Regions from separate parts of the Homo sapiens genome. Here region 2 is linked to region 1. The links are contacts of gene promoters, found by promoter capture Hi-C in blood cells and fetal thymus (Javierre and others, 2016). All regions are on one chromosome and are shown on one strand. Each heading gives the region's core, a stretch centred on a gene start or on the middle of the fragment in contact. The rest is flanking DNA. Distances are from core to core; before and after follow the strand shown.

Region 1 (7,743 bases), core at 4,131-6,630:
CCACTTTAGTAGTATGAACACTAGCTGAGTGTCCAGCTCCACCAGTTGCTGCTCTGGGTGACCTCAAGCAAGTGGCTACTCTTTATCAGATTGTAGGAAAATTAAATGTGATGGTCATTATTCATTTACAGTTTACCACGTGCCTTCCACATTCAGCCTTACCTCGCTGAATCCTTAAAATTACTCTATAATGTTGGAGGCCAATCAACTATTATCTTCATTTTACAGACAGCGGAAACTGTATCTTGCTCTCAGTACTATGGTGCCCCCATGAGAGATGCAGACTCAGGGCACCCAGACCCCCAGCCATCTCTGCATCTGCAACACTTATACAACACAAAAGCCACAATGGCTGAAGTGTACAGCATTCCCAAAAGCAGCACCCTGGCCCTGGCCCCCTCATGCTGGTCCTTGAACAGCAGTTGCCCGCATTCTGTGGCCCCAGGGCCTACATGGGCCGGGTTCCCTGTGGAAGGAGGGCAAAGTAGATATTCATTCTTTTACAGATTTTACATAAAGATCTGTGTTTTTTTTTTTTTAGGTTTATGTTAGTTGACATGGAATGGAGGCATTAATCAGGTCAAGACTAAAATCTAGAGAAGATAAATCCAATGCATATGGAGCAGTGGAATCACTTCAGGAGGAACTGAACAGACTGCTTTAATTCACTGCAGAATTTTGAACAGCAAGAAATCCAAAGACTCAAGTTTCCAGCATAGAGGTGTGATGAGATGGAGAATGTTTGTATGAAGAGAGAAACAGGGGTGTTGCTAAAAACAAAAAAGAAGCTGGGTTCCTCCTTGGAATGGCCCTCCCTTGCTCTACTTGTTTTGGGTTTTAGGCTCCCCTTTATACAACATGGCTCTTTGGAGTGCTGGAGTAGGATTAAAAAGAAGAAAGAGGCCAGGCATGGTGGCTCACACCTGTAATCCTAGCACTTTAAGAGGCCGAGGCAGGTGGATCGCCTGAGGTCAGGAGTTTGAGACCAGCCTGGCCAACATAGAAAAATCCCATCTCTACTAAAAATACAAAAAAAAAATTAGCTGGGTATAGTGGCGCACGCCTGTAAACCCAGCTATTCAGGAGGCTGAGGCAGGAGAATCGCTTGAACCCAGAAGGCAGAGGTTGCAGTGAGCCGAGATCATGCCATTGCACTACAGCCTGGGCAACAAGAGTGAAACTCTGTCTTAAAAAAAAAAGAAGAAGAAGAGGAAGAGGAAGAAGAAAGAGGAGGAGGAGGAGGAGGGAGAGGAAGCTGAACTGGCTTGTAGAAGATTTCATAGATGTCTGATGCCCACAGTACTATCAGAGCTTGAACAAAAACAGCTCCACCAAATTCAAAGTAGAAATTTGGAACAAGATTTGAACAAGAAAAAAAATACCACTTCCCATAACACAGTCTCCTCCTCTCCTAGCTTTAGCCCTTAACACAGAGTGTGGCACATCTAACATGGTCAGTAAAGAATTCCACCAACTCAAGAACGAAAAATAAACTCCCTATCATGGATAAATGTCTTTCCCCATTATATATCTTTCTTTCCTCTTTATCTTCTCTTTCTTCATCCCTTTCTTCTCACATTTTTTCTTCATTTTCTGTATAATAGCAAGTCTCCTAGGCCAGGTGGCTGTGCTGGCCATTCCCAGTAGTTCTCAAAAACACAAACAGATCCTTCTGGAAAGTTCTGTCTTGAATTGGTCCCTGTTGCAGGACAGTACATTAGAAATGGTATTTCTAGAAGGCTTGGAGAAGTAGATGATAAGCCAGAGTTTCCTTCTTGGGATTCCTCTCCCGAGTCTGAACTGGAAACCATTGACCTAGTTGTTAAACAATGGAGGCCCCCAACCCAGAACATTTTAATGGGATAACTTTTAGATTTTCTTGAGAAACATGAACTGAGAATAGAAAGACTTCTACATTCTCTCACTGCCCTGGCCATTCCGGTCCCTATTTCAGGGTCTCAGTCCCTCAGGAGAGATATACGAGACCCCCAATGGGTGTCCAATCCTTGGATTTTCCTCTAAGACTTTATCCATGTGTTAAGAGTCCACAATGCACCTCCAAAGAAGCTCCTGTGTGACCACCATTCATCTTCTGAGGATATCAGCGATCCTTTCATGCCATCCCATGCCAAGACTAACACTGCTCTGTGGTGATCCCCCATCCTATATCTGTAGGAAGCCATGCTGGGTCTGCCCGAGCCAGAGTTTTCAAAATCTATAATCCCTCCAGAACCTCCTTGCTTTCCTCAACATAGATTTTTGCCAAAGGAGATCAGATCCAATTGGAAGATCCCTCCCCCGCAGCAGAATACTTTGTAATTGGATTAGTCTCAACAGCAACAGTAGTTCTGGCCTTGAATATGAGTTAATCAGCCAAGTCACAACACAAGAAAGCTGACTGCACCAGAAAACCCTGTACAATCCGTGAATTTCTTCATGGTTGAGACTCAGATGAATCATCATGTTGATCTGACTCATGCTTCTCCCTGCCTTAGGCCAAGAGACTGAGGCTTCACCTGGGATCTGCCTCTTTCCCACTCAAGAGTCAAATGAGCCCCCAAGGAGTAAGAAAAAAATGTGATTGATTCTGATTTGCACCCCAGTCTTTTTTTAATTTATCATAAAGAATCAAATATTTACATTAGAAGATATCTTGTGCTGTGAAAAAAAAGGAATAAAAGAAGGGAGGAAGAAAAGAAGTGGGAGGGTGGGAGAGAAAGGAAACAATAGAATAAGGCAGGCGCGGTGGCTTACGCCTGTAATCCCAACACTTTGGGAGGCCAAGGCCAGAGGATCGCTTGAGCTCAGGAGGTCAAGACCAGCCTGGGCAACGTGGAAAGACCCCATCTCTCGAAAAAAATAAAAAATTAGCCAGGCACAGTAGCATACACCTGTCGTCCCAGCTATTCAGGAGGCTGACGTAGGAGAATCGCTTGAACCTAGGATGTGTGGCTGCAGTGAGCCATGTTCTCACCACTGCACTCCAACCTGGGTGACAGAATGTCACCTGTCTTAAAAAGAAAACAATAGGCTAGAAAAAAAAGAAAAGAAAGCAGTAAGTGACATAAGACCAAGAGGAAAAAGGGAAACTTGAGCATCATCTGTCCTCCCAGTGGCCTACGGAGGGAAAAGAGTAGACACTTAGCTTCACAGTCCACCGCAAATCAGGCAGGGTCACTTCTGCAAACACTGGTAACCTACTAAAACCCAAGCACAGAATAAGACAGACACTGAGATTCAGAGATAAAGTCAAGATGGCTCCTACTGTTGCAGGGGAACTAGAATGACTCAGAATCCCAGACAGGTCATGTTTGAAGAGGCCATTCATTCACTCCCATTGAGGTGAAAGTTGCATCCCTTTCTCCCTTCTCTCCTTCTCTTATCCTGGAGCGCAAACATTGTGTGGAGTGCAAACATTGTGTGGAGCCCCTACATAGGCGCGGTGGCTTATGCGTTGGAGTTGAACTACTATGAAGGTACTTGAGATCTGGTGATTCCCTTGGATAAATTTCCTACAAGGAATCATTTCACAAAGTTTTATGGACAGAAAATGCCCATAATTTGGATGGTGGCTTTTGGAGCCGTGACATGATCTCAGCTATATGAATAGAATTATAAGGACAAGATGCTGAGGGATTTACTCAAGAGCTCTGACTAGCTGACAGTAGAATCTTGGCAGATCTTCCAACACACACATCTAGTATGGCCCAATCTTCAGAATTATCTGTGCATTTGGGCAAGAATAGGCCCCATCGCCAGCACCCTGGCATTTGGGCAAGACTCGCACAAAAAATGAGGGATGGCTTCAGGAGTAAGAACCTTTGAGACGGCCTGGGTTGTGGACTTAATAGTCTGGAGAGATATCAACAGGTATCAATTTAATTTAATGGTTCCATTCCTCAGATATCTCTAGGGCAGAGTCCTCAGCCCAGGGCACACACAGAATCACGACTCTGAACGTGAGCATTCTCACTGGAGGGGTAGAGGTCACTGTGGTGACCCTTTTGAGCACCCAGGAAAGATTCCCAGGTAAAAGGAGGACTGAGGAAAAGCTGGAAAAGAGGCAAGTGTCAGCCTAGGATGTGTCAGTGGGCCATGCATTCATCTACAGGAAGGGCGGTTCCGCCTGGAAGAGGCAGAGCGGCCCTTCTCCCCCTGTCCACCCATGTCTCCTCACCCCACCTCACCCCGAGATGAGGAGCCCTGAGAGAGCTGGCAGGCTGCAGTCGGTGAGGTCTGCAGATTTGGGGAAGAAGTCGAATAAGGTAGAGAACCACAGAAGGAAAGTCCAATTAGGGCGCTGGGGCCTGAGATCATCAGGCCCTAGCCTGATGACTCAGGAGTCTAGCCCTCCAGATGAACTGGCTGGTTCCACACACAGGTCAAGTGGATGTGCTGGGAGAACATCCTAAACCTGTAACGGAAATTAGGGGGCCAGGAGCCCACAGAAATCACACACTGGGTGAGCTCAAGTGTTCGGAGACTGAGGTAGCAGTTGTCCACTGTCAGGTCCCGAAAGTAGATATCGCCTTGCATATGCCATTTATCCTTCTGATGCTCTAGTGAATGAAGGTGTTGATGAGCTTGCAGACTCTGGAGACCATTCCCCTATGCTATATTATCACGTCACAATAGTGGCTGGACCCACCTGAGATTCTGCACCTCAGGTAATCAGACGGCTACTGTCTAAGTCCTGGGCCTGGGGGAAACACTCTGACGTAGCAGCAGACACAGGAGGGTCCCCGTCAGAACCATGTTTTCTGTGAAGTGGGGATCAGTCCTTTTCCCTGAAGTACCTAGCACATAGGTGTTCTCAGTAAGTGTTATGTTAGCTTACTAAGAAGACTGGTCTCATTTGAAGAGAAATTAACAAATGTAAAAAAATAAATAAACCTATTAACTAGGTTTAATATTTATCAAACTATTAACTATTCAATAATCATTTAACTATTAATTTCTGTTTTCTTCAGTCGCTTAAATCTGATTTTTCTCTTCTTTCCGTTACTGCAGTCTCCCTTTTTCACACAGGGAAACAACCCAAGACTCAGAGTTCTCCGCGGAGGAATGCAAAGAACACAGGAAGTCAGTACTCCCAGAAACAGTCTTTGCTGGCGCGCTCACACCCAACCCCATCCCGCCCCCGTCCCGTCCCGCCCCGCCCCACCCCACCCTCTTGATTTCTGGGGCCGGTGACCAGGCCCAACGCAGCCTTCAAGTCGGCCCAAACACGGTTTCTGCCTCAAGGATTATTTATATAACCATTGCTTATTGGCTGCTGGCAAACACTCGCTCTTCTCGTTGGCTGAAACTGTCGGGAGAAGTTCTGCGAAGGCTGCTCCTTGCGGCGTTGGGACTGAGGGTCACAGGCACCTGTATTTCCGTTTCCGGTTCGCCTCCGGAGCCATGGCGGCGGCACTGAAGTGTCTACTGACATTAGGAAGATGGTGCCCCGGCCTTGGAGTGGCTCCCCAGGCCCGGGTGAGTGCCTACATTCCCTGCTGTCGGAGAGACTCTGGATCTGCAGAGACATCTCCGCGCAGAGGAGGAGCGCTCCTGGCAGCCCCCGCCCTAGCGATTGCCAGCAACTTTCCTTTCTGCCAGGAAATCAACCTACCTTTCTCTGCCTGCAGGCGCTCGCCGCCTTAGTACCCGGAGTGACCCAGGTAGATAACAAGTCCGGTTTCCTGCAGAAGAGGCCTCATCGCCAGCACCCTGGCATCCTAAAGCTGCCGCACGTGCGGCTGCCACAGGCACTGGCTAACGGTGCCCAGTTATTGCTACTTGGTGAGTAACGGCGGGAAAGCGAGAAGAAACGGGACTGGACCTACATGCAAGTGATTCCGCTTTTCGTCTTTGGCCCATAGGGAGCGCTGGGCCCACTATGGAGAATCAGGTGCAAACACTGACCAGTTATCTCTGGAGCAGACATTTGCCTGTAGAGCCAGAGGAGTTGCAAAGACGGGCTAGGCATCTTGAGAAAAAATTCCTGGAAAACCCAGGTAGGACTTAAGAATAATTAAAAAGTGGGCGAGATTGAAATATCGGTTAGAAATGAAGAGTAAGAAATAATTCTACAATCTCTCAGATACTGAAGTCTCTTATTTGACTTTCTAACCAGAGCAGCAGTTGTTACAATGATGCCTTACTAAAAGAAGGTAGATTATTTTAGAGATTGCTTAGGTAAAGGTCAGAATGTCCCAGTATACTGTTTTTTGTTTGTTTGTTTGTTTTGTTGTTTTGTTTTTGCTTTGAGACAGAGTCTTGCTCTGTCACCCAGGCTGAAGTGTAATGCTCGATCTCGGCTCACTGCAACCTCCGCCTCCCGGGTTTAAGTGATTTTCCTGCCTCAGCCTCTTCAGTAGCTGGGATTACAGGCGTGCACCACCACACCCGGCTACTTGTATTTTTAGTAGAGACGGGGTTTCATCATGGTGGCCAGGCTAGTCTCGAACTTCTGACCTCAGGTGATCCGCCCACCTTGGCCTCCCAAAGTGCTAGGATTACAGGCATGAACCACCGCGCCTGGCTACCAATATACTGTTAAAATCTAGATATTTATTTTTTTCTGCAAGTCCACTGGATTAGGACCTTCTAAGTTTTTATTCAGGTAAAATAAAGTCCCTGGATGGTCCCTGCCCAGTACTGAAACCCTCTTCTGGGATAAGAGGGTAAATATAATTCATCAAGTTAGTTTCATGATTGTGAGCTCCTTGACACTACCATTTATTCATCTTGCATTCCCTGCACACCTCACAGTACCTGGCTCACAGTAGTTCAGTAGATACTTGCTAAATAGTACTGAACTGAACAGTCATGAGACGTAGATTTTCAGATTTCTTTCCTCTCCATAGGAATAGTGGAGATCATCAAAACCTTAAATTTTGGAGAAGTGAAGAAATCCAAAAAATAATGTCCTTGGCCTACCCTTTAAAAAAAATTTTTTTTTTTTGAGACAGAGTCTTGCTCTGTTGCCCAGGCTATAGTGCAGTGGTGCGATCTCAGCTCACCACAACCTCTGCCTCCCGGTTTCAAGTGATTCTCCTGCCTCAGCTTCCCAAGTAGCTGGGAATACAGGTGCACGCCACCACGCCTGGCTAATTTTTGTATTTTTCGTAGAGAAAGGTTTTCACCATGTTGGTCAGGCTGTTCTCAAACTCCTGACCTCGTGATCCGCCTGCCTCAGCCTCCCAAAGTGCTGAGCTTACAGGCGTGAGCCACCGCACCCAGCTTACCCTTTAAATTTGTATCACACTTTCCTTTAATATAAAACAAACCTGTGGGACAGGATTGGTTAAGCTGAATAAACCATTCTTATAAATAAAATGCTATCTGATACAATCTGTTAGTGGTAGTTGTTACCGTTAATTCTTGCCTGAAACTTTTCTCTAGGTTTGTCGTCTCCCTTGAGCTTTAAGGCTTTTCTTAGGTGGAGTCGGGGAGGACTGGGTGGGCAGTATATTCAGATATTGGATCTGAGCCCTGTTCTCCCTAGGTCCTGACTTCCAGTCCTTGTTCTCACCACAGACTTATCTCAGACAGAGGAGAAACTTCGTGGAGCAGTGCTACACGCACTACGTAAAACTACCTACCATTGGCAAGAACTGAGGTAAGGGGGCCCAGAAGAGGTGCACAAGAAAGCAAAGGTAGACTTTAGAAAGAGAGTTGGGGGAGTACAATTACACAATCAATTTAGTATTTTCTTTTATATCACCTGACCTTAAAAGGATCAATTTAGTATTTGAA
Region 2 (7,743 bases), core at 2,284-4,783, 330 kb before region 1:
TGACAGCTGTCTCCCCAAAGTAGACACAGCAAAGTGGGAATGAACATTTTCTTTACGCCTGTATAGGTCTATACATTTCCAGCCAAGGAGAATGAGAGGGGCAGGCTGAGGGCTCAGGGAAGAGAGATAGGGAGGCAGAGACACAGAGACAAAGAGAAATATACAGAGACAGAGAAACGGTGAAAGAGAGAAAGAGAATGAGACAGAGACAAACATGAGACTGTCAGATCTCAATGCAGTGATAAAGAGCCTGAGATGGATGAGAGTGAGAGGGTGAGTTTTCACGGAAGATACCACGGTTATCCCCACTTTACACCCTTGTCAAGTAAGCTTGACGTTCTCCAGGGAACTTGACCTTCCAGGCTTTGCCCACCTGGTCAGGAGAGCTCTGTCAAAGGTGAGCACAGCGGTTTTGTCACAGCCAGTGGAGATGCTCAAGCTCGAGAGCAGTCTGTGAAGAAAAGCGAAGGAGCACAGGGTGGGGAAGTAGTGGTCAGCATGAATAGAGGGATTAGTGGGGTCACAAAGTAGAAGCAAGGCGTGGGAAGCTAGGTGATCAGGAAAGACTTCGTGGGTGTTTTGCCCGGGAGAGTGTGGTTACTACTTGGAAGCTGCAGGGCTTTTAACCAAAAGCATCACGCACTTCCTTCGAGCTGGAATCGAACCAGCGACCTAAGGATGTCCGCAAATGTCTATACAATCTACAGTCCTCCGCTCTACCAGCTGAGCTATCGAAGGATGCATGCTATCAAAGCTGGTTCATTGGACTTTCTGCAAACAGAGGGAGCCACATCCCTGGAATGCTTGAGGTCCAATACGCGTTGGGTTGGTTGGCACCCACCTTGGAAGAGAACCCTGCGCCGCTTGACACCACACCCCTTTCAGGGCGGAGCAAATCCTCTGGGCGAGGATGCCTGGTGTCTCTCGGGCTCTGATAGCCACCATCCACGAGGAGGAGCTCTCATCTGTGACAGCCTTCCTCTCCCTGAGCATCCACCTTTCTACAGGTGAGGATGACAGCCCCCAGTGGCCTGAGAGAAAATGAGAAGGTGAGTCAGCGAGGGCACAGGGATTGGCGAGGTGGTTGGGTGGGTCTAGTCGGGGAGAGAACGCTGGAGGAGGAAAAGAGGAGAACCCTAATGGGCGCTGGATAGGCAGCTGACAACTCCAACCCAACCTCAGAGTCTGGTGCAGGTCTCTAATGGGCGCTTCCATAATAGTCTGGCCTCTCTACTCCCTCCCCTACCACACACACAGGGCCCTCCTCCCCAGGTGCCCCGCCCTTCTCCTCATAGTAGTCTATGCTCACATTTTGGTGCATTGAGGTGCACTGGGAAGTGAGGTGAGGAAATCTCTCCCAGGCTTGCAGAGGCACATGTGAGATACCCTCTTCTGCAAACAGGCTGAGAATTCCAATCAGAAGCTGCTGATTTCTGAAGTAGGGCAAAGTTCTGTGGGTTTCTTTGAAAAACAAGAAGCCAGGTAGAGGACAGAAGTGTGAGCTTTGGACTCCTTATCCTGAACCCACATCTTTGACAAAAGTTTCAGATCCCATCTGGTGTGTGCCCACCACTCCGAGACCACTGAGGCACCCTCTCTGCAGCAGAACACCTAGAGGAGGACAGGAAGCCACACCCACGGGACCTAGCCTCCATTGAGTTTATGTCCACTTCCTGTCTTATGGCAAGTGGGTGTGGATCTCCGAGAGTGAGGATCAGATCCTCACAGACATCCTGCTACTCTCTGCCATGGCACAGCTGGGAAGAGTGGGCACCTGGGCTCACCTTCACTTGTGCCAGCCACCAAACCCATTTGTTGGCTCACCTCTGGTTTTTCCCCAAAGCACTGAGCAAAGGTTCCAAGGGCTCTGGTGACTCCACGCCCCATCAGGAATATATCCAATGAAGGCCTGAGGTGCTACCTTTGGTCCCTCTTTGTTAGCTGGTCTTTGCCTTTGGTGTCATTGGAGCTGGGGTCTCTCTGTGCCTCCAGAGCCATAGAAGCATCCCAGAGCACTGGTGACACCAAAGAAGAAAGGTTGACACAGTCGGGGTGACGTGGGGGAGAATAGGCGGTGGCGGGATACCAGGAGCTGCTTTCCATGTGAAAAAGATATGTGCAGTAATATGTGCAGTATCCAGTTTGAGAGGCACAATTAAACAGTTCATGTGGACCCAGCAGGTAGTAGATGGGGCAAGCCAGTCCTAAGCAGGCTTCAGAAGGCCATGCTTTCCTGGGCCATTCAGTTTGGAGTACTCTCTGATAGGTTGCATCTTTACATCAAACATCGGGAAGCTTTTTCCAAGATTATGTGATGAGACCAAAGGATGCTCATTGGCTTTCTTCTCTGCCACATATCCACCAAACCCACTCCAACTCCCCAGAGTTGAAGCTTCACTTGATTGATAAAGCCCAGTCCATTTCTGACTCCATTCTCTCTGACTGGGCCTCAGCACATTTTTCTTGGGAGTAGGAGAACCCAACTGTGCCTCTAGGTCCCAGAGCAAACGCTCCGAACTGCTTAGACCCACGAGGCAGTGGCCTGTCTAAGGAGGCAAATCCACGTGCCTCTGTATAAAGGCAGCTGTCACTCAAGCTTTACGTCTGCTCCCTGCCATGGACCCAATAGCCCCTAACTCTCCAGGATCACTGAAGCTGTTTTGAAGTCTGCACTTCTTTGGTACTCGCTTTCCCTTTCCCTTACCCTCCCAAGTAGGCAGGGCACTTGGTGCAGGTGTTTTTGCAGACTTTGAACTGAGTATTAGATATCCTTACTTTTCCAGCAGTAGCCAAACTTGGCTGTAGCAACATAAAAACTTGTGAAAGCTCAGGAAAGATGAAGCTTGACGGGTCTGGGACAGGGGGATGGGTGGGCAGTTTGTAAATACAAGTGGAAAGGCGTAGGATGGTGGGGGCACGAATTGGGGTCTGGCTGGGTCACAAGGCAAGGGGCACTGTTTTGAGCTGAAGACTATGAGGATTCGGGAAGAATGAATAGGCTCCCAGGCCTGTGATCAGGAAAGGCAGGATTTTGCTGGGTTTTCCTGGGGAAAGTGTAGTTATGACTGGAAGGCTGCAAGGTCTTTGACGAGGAACAGGTGCAGCCAGGCAGCATTGTGCGCAAAAGAGTCAGGCGCTTCCTTCGAGCCGGAATTGAACCAGCGACCTAAGGATGTCCACAAACGTTTCCGCAGTCTACAGTCCTCCGCTCTACCAGCTGAGCTATCGAAGGATGCACACTGTTAAGGCTGGGTCACTGGACTTTCTGCAAATGGAGGAAGCCAAGTCCCTGGACCACCGGAGATCCAATACTCGTTGAGTTAATTGGAACCCGACTTGGAAGAGAACTCTGCGCCGGTCTCCACTGCGCCCCTTTCCGGACAGAGCAAATCCTCTGGGCCCGGGGGGGTGCCTGGCGTCTCTGGGGCGCCGATAGCCACGATCCACGAGGAGGAGCTCTCACCTGTGGCCTTCCTCTCCCTCTGCATCGCTCTTTCTGCTTGTGAAGATGACAGCCCTTAGTGGCCAGAGGGAAAATGAGGTAAGACGGCGAGGGCAGAGGGCTTGGTGAGACTGATGGGTGGGTCCAGTGGAGGAGAGGACACTGGAGGAGGAAAAGAGGAGAACCAGCATGGGCGTGGTGTAAGCAGCTTCCAACCCCAGCCTAGCGTCAGGGTCTGATGGAAGACCATAAGGGGGCACTGCCCTAACAGCCTGTCCTCTACTTCCCACCACCTCAAACACACTCCTCTCGATGTGCGCGGCCCTTCTACCCAGTGTCCTATGCTCACTTTTTGGAGTATTGAGGCATAATGGGAAGAGAGGGAGGAAATGCAGGAGGATAGGTGGAGGCCAGGTATGGTGGCTCGCACCGCAATTCCAACAATTTAGCGGGCCGAGGCGAAAGGGGCGCTTGAGCGCAGGAGTTCGAGATCAGCCTGGGCAACATAGGGAGAAGCCATCTCTACAGAAAAACTTCTAAAAAGTATCCGGGTGTGGTGGCCTGCACCTGTGGTCCTGGCCACTCAGCAGGCTGAGGTGGGAGGATCATCTGAGCCCGGGTGTTCGAGGCTACAGTAAGCTGTGATCTTGCCACTGCACTCCAGCCTGGGCGACAGAGACAATTTAAAAAAAAAAAAAAAAAGATATGTGGGGAGAGAGTAGGGCCAGGGGCTCGCAGATCACCATGTGATACCCATTACCTCTAACCCCAAAGGCCAGCATAAAAGCTTCGATCCAGTCCTCTGCTACTGACCAAGAATCCTTTCCCAGAGGCTGCTGCTTTCTAAAGTAGGGGCCCCTGGAAAGAAAAGGGGGCTGATAGAGGAAACCAGGTGAGCTTTGGACCCCTTACCTAGGCCACAAATTGTTACAAAGGGTTCATATCCCATATGGTGTGTGTCCACTATCCCAAGACCACTCATCACCCACACAAACAGTGAGACAGTTACTGGTGGCACAGCAAGCTGAACCCAAAAGACCCACCCTTTATTGAGTTTATAGGGGAAAAGTCATGGTCAGGGATCACCCACACTTTTGCTGATGACCAAACACCACTCAATGGCCCACCTCTGTTTTTTCCCTCAAAGCACCAAGCCTAGGTTCCAAAAAACCTGGTACCGCCACATCTTATCAAGGACATATCCAGTATAGACCAAAGGTTCTACTTTGGTTTCTGTTTGCTGATCTCTGCAGCAATGTCATTCGAGGCTGGGATCTCTCTGGGGCTGCAGAGCTACAGAATGTTGCTGGGGCACTGGTGAGTCCACAGCTCTGCCCCTTTCCATCAGCAGTGGGAAGCAGGAAAGGCTGATACAACAGAGAAGAGGTAGGGAATAGGCCGTAGGGGGAGAACAGGATCTGCTTTCTAGGAGGGGAAGACATGTGTACTCTCTAGTTTGAGACGCAGAGTGAAAAAGCAGTTATGCCCATCGGGTAGGGGAGAGTGGTCACCGGGTTCCCAGAAGGCCTCTGAGAACCAAATTTCCATCACTGTTTTGCTTGCAGTGCTCTCTGTGATAATTTTCATCTGTATATCAAGCGTCTGAAGATTTTTTTTTTTTTCCCCAGAGCATAGGATGGGACCAGGGGACACTCATTGTGGTTCCTCTCTGGCTCATACTTTGATGAACCCACTTCATCTTCCCAGAGGTGAAGCCCAGTTGGTGAAAGCCAAGCCCATTTCCTGCTTCATGCTCTCAGATTGTGCCAGCCATCTTCCTCTTGTAGAAGGCGCAACCTTCCAGCTGTGCCTGCAGAGCCCCCACATAAAAGTGAGCATGCTGCTCAGATGCAACAAGCCAGTGGCCTAAGGAGGTGAACTTGTGTACCTCTGCAAGGTGGCAGCTGCCACCCAAGCTTCAATTCTGCTCCCTGCCAGGGACCCAACAGCCCCCAACCCTCCCGGGTCACTGAAGTTCTTTCCAAGTCTGCCCTTTTATACTCTCTTTCCCTCTCTCACACCTTCACAACCAGTAAGACACTTGGTATAGGTGTTTTTGCAGACTTTGAACTGAGTGGAAGGTATCTTTCTTCTTCCAGCAGGAGCCCAAAGTTTACTGTAGCAACATTAAAAGGTGCGAAGGCTCGGGAAATGTGAGGCTTGGTGTATGTGGGAAGGGGGCACATTTTTGTTCTCAACCTGAAGGAAAATATTATGGAGCCAGTGGAAGCCCTATTTATTAAGAAAATCTCAGGGCGGCAACTCTCTCCCACAAATAGACAAAACAAAACAGAAATGAACATTTTCTGTCTGTATACATCTATACATTACAAGCAAAAGATAATGAGAGAACTAGAGTCAGAGAAAAACAGAGAGAGAGAGAGAGAATGCTCAGATAGAAAAGCATTTGCTAGAGACCTGGAGAAGGAGATGAGAGAGAGACAGCATAGAGAGCATTTTTTTTTTTTCCTGAGGATGTCACAGTTGTCTCTGACCCTTTTCTCTTCCAGCAGGCTTGATCTTCTAGGAGTTGATGGTGGGCCCACTGGTTTAATAGATCGAGAGATCTATCAATGGTGAGCACACAATGTTGCTAGAGTCCATGGCCCTCAGCACCCAGAGCAGTCTGTGGATAAAAGTGAAAGAGCTCTGGATGGTGGGGGTGCGAAGGGGGTTGGGGAGAGGGGCTGACTGGGTCACAAAGCAGAAGCAAGGGGCCCTTTGCGTTGAAGAGTACCTGTCCCTGGACTGTGGGAAGAATGAGTGGGCTTACGGGCGTGTTTCCTGGCCACAGCACAGGTGTGGAAACCAGGTGATCAGGAAAGGTTTCTCTGGGTTTTGACTGGGAGGGTGTGGGTGGATACTAGTTGGAGGCTGCAGGGCGTTTGACCAGGCACCAGGTGGCATTGCATGCAAAAGCATCGGGCACTTCCTTCGAGCCGGAATCGAACCAGCGACCTAAGGATGTCCGCAAATGTCTGTACAATCTACAGTCCTCCGCTCTACCAGCTGAGCTATCGAAGGGTGCACGCTGCAAGAGCTGGATCACTGGACTTTCCGCAAATGGAGGAAGCCAAGTCCTTGGAACGCTGGAGTCAACACACTTAGAGTTGATTGGAACCCGCCTTAGAAGAGAACCTTGCGCTGGTTGCCACCGCGCACCTCTCAGGGTGGAGCAAATCCTCCGAGTGTGGTTTCCTCGCGTCCCAGAGCGCTGATAGCCACAATCCAGGACGGGAGGCTCTCGCCTGTGGCCTTCCTCCACCTGTGCATCTCTGTTTTTACAAGTGAGGATGACAGCCCTCAGCGAAAGAAAACAAGAGGGTGAGAGGGCTCGGTCAGAGGGATGGGCTAGGTGGATGGGTGGATCCTGTGGGACAGGGGTTGCAGGAGGAGGAAAGAAGAACTCGGAAAGCTTCTGGGTGGGCGGCCGCTATCCGCAGACCAGCTGCAGGGTCTGCTGAAAGTCCTTAAGCAGCCCTTTCCTAAAACTCTGGCCTTCCTACTCCCTTCCCGGCCAACACACACATGCCCCTTCTCCCGATGTGCCTCCGCCCTTTTCCCTACAGTGTCCTATGCTTGCTTTTTGGCGCATTCAAGTGTGCTAGAAGTGAGAGAGAGAACAAATGGGACTAGGTGAGAAGAACTCGCCCAGGGCTTGCAGATGCACTGTGATACCCTCCTTCCTCCCCAGCGCCCAACTGGGGCTTGGCTTCCCTCCTCTGCAAACTGACCAAGAACTCTTTTTTTTTTCTCCCCCAGAGGCTTCCTCTTTCTGAAGTAGGGCAAGTATATTAGTCCGTTTTCATGCTGCGGATAAAGACATACCCGAGACTGGGATGAAAAAGAGGTTTAATTGGACTCACAGTTCCACATGCCTAGGGGGCCTCAGAATCATGGCTGGAGGTGAAAGGCACTTCTTCTTCTTCTTCTTCTTCTTCTTCTTTTTTTTTTTTTTTTTTTGAGATGGAGTTTCACTCTCGTTGCCCAGGCTGGAGTGAAATGGCGCGATCTCAGCTCACCGCCACCTCCGCCTCCCAGGTTCAAGCGATTCTGCCGCCTCAGCCTCCGGAGTAGCTGGGATTACAGGTATGCGCCGCCACGCCCGGCTAATTTTGCATTTTTAGTAAAGACTTGGGGTTTCTCCATGTTGGCCAGGCTGGTCTTGAACTCCCGACCTTAGGTGATCCACCCTCCTCGGCCTCCCAAAGTGCTGGGATTACAGGCGTGAGCCACCCCTCCTGTCCAAGGCACTTCTTACATGGCAGAGGCAGGAGAAAATAAGAGAGAAGCAAAAGCGG

Evidence for each region. The method cuts DNA at HindIII sites, captures the fragments that hold promoters and counts their contacts. A CHiCAGO score of 5 or more calls a contact.
Region 2: a fragment that was not itself captured here is called in contact with the fragment with the promoter of METTL17 in region 1 in 1 of 17 cell types (monocytes); the score reaches 5.3 in monocytes.

What each region holds. Positions count from the first base shown.
Region 1 is chr14:20,984,600-20,992,342 of GRCh38, forward strand. It overlaps METTL17 (methyltransferase like 17), which reads left to right and starts at 5,381. Exons shown (of 14, transcript NM_022734.3): 1 at 5,381-5,478; 2 at 5,631-5,784; 3 at 5,865-5,999; 4 at 7,525-7,606. The coding sequence starts at 5,404. RefSeq lists a silencer at 5,028-5,157 and an enhancer at 5,908-5,957. The HindIII fragment of the contact is 15,587 bases long and covers 1-7,743 here.
Region 2 is chr14:20,656,820-20,664,562 of GRCh38, forward strand. It overlaps TRY-GTA7-1 (tRNA-Tyr (anticodon GTA) 7-1), which reads right to left and starts at 3,232; the gene lies at 3,139-3,232. It overlaps LOC124903281 (a long non-coding RNA gene), which reads left to right. Exons shown (of 2, transcript XR_007064059.1): 2 at 886-5,594. TRY-GTA4-1 (tRNA-Tyr (anticodon GTA) 4-1) reads right to left here and starts at 738; the gene lies at 645-738. TRY-GTA5-4 (tRNA-Tyr (anticodon GTA) 5-4) reads right to left here and starts at 6,466; the gene lies at 6,373-6,466. RefSeq lists silencers at 4,603-4,822, 6,771-6,840 and an enhancer at 6,381-6,660. The HindIII fragment of the contact is 1,387 bases long and covers 2,841-4,227 here.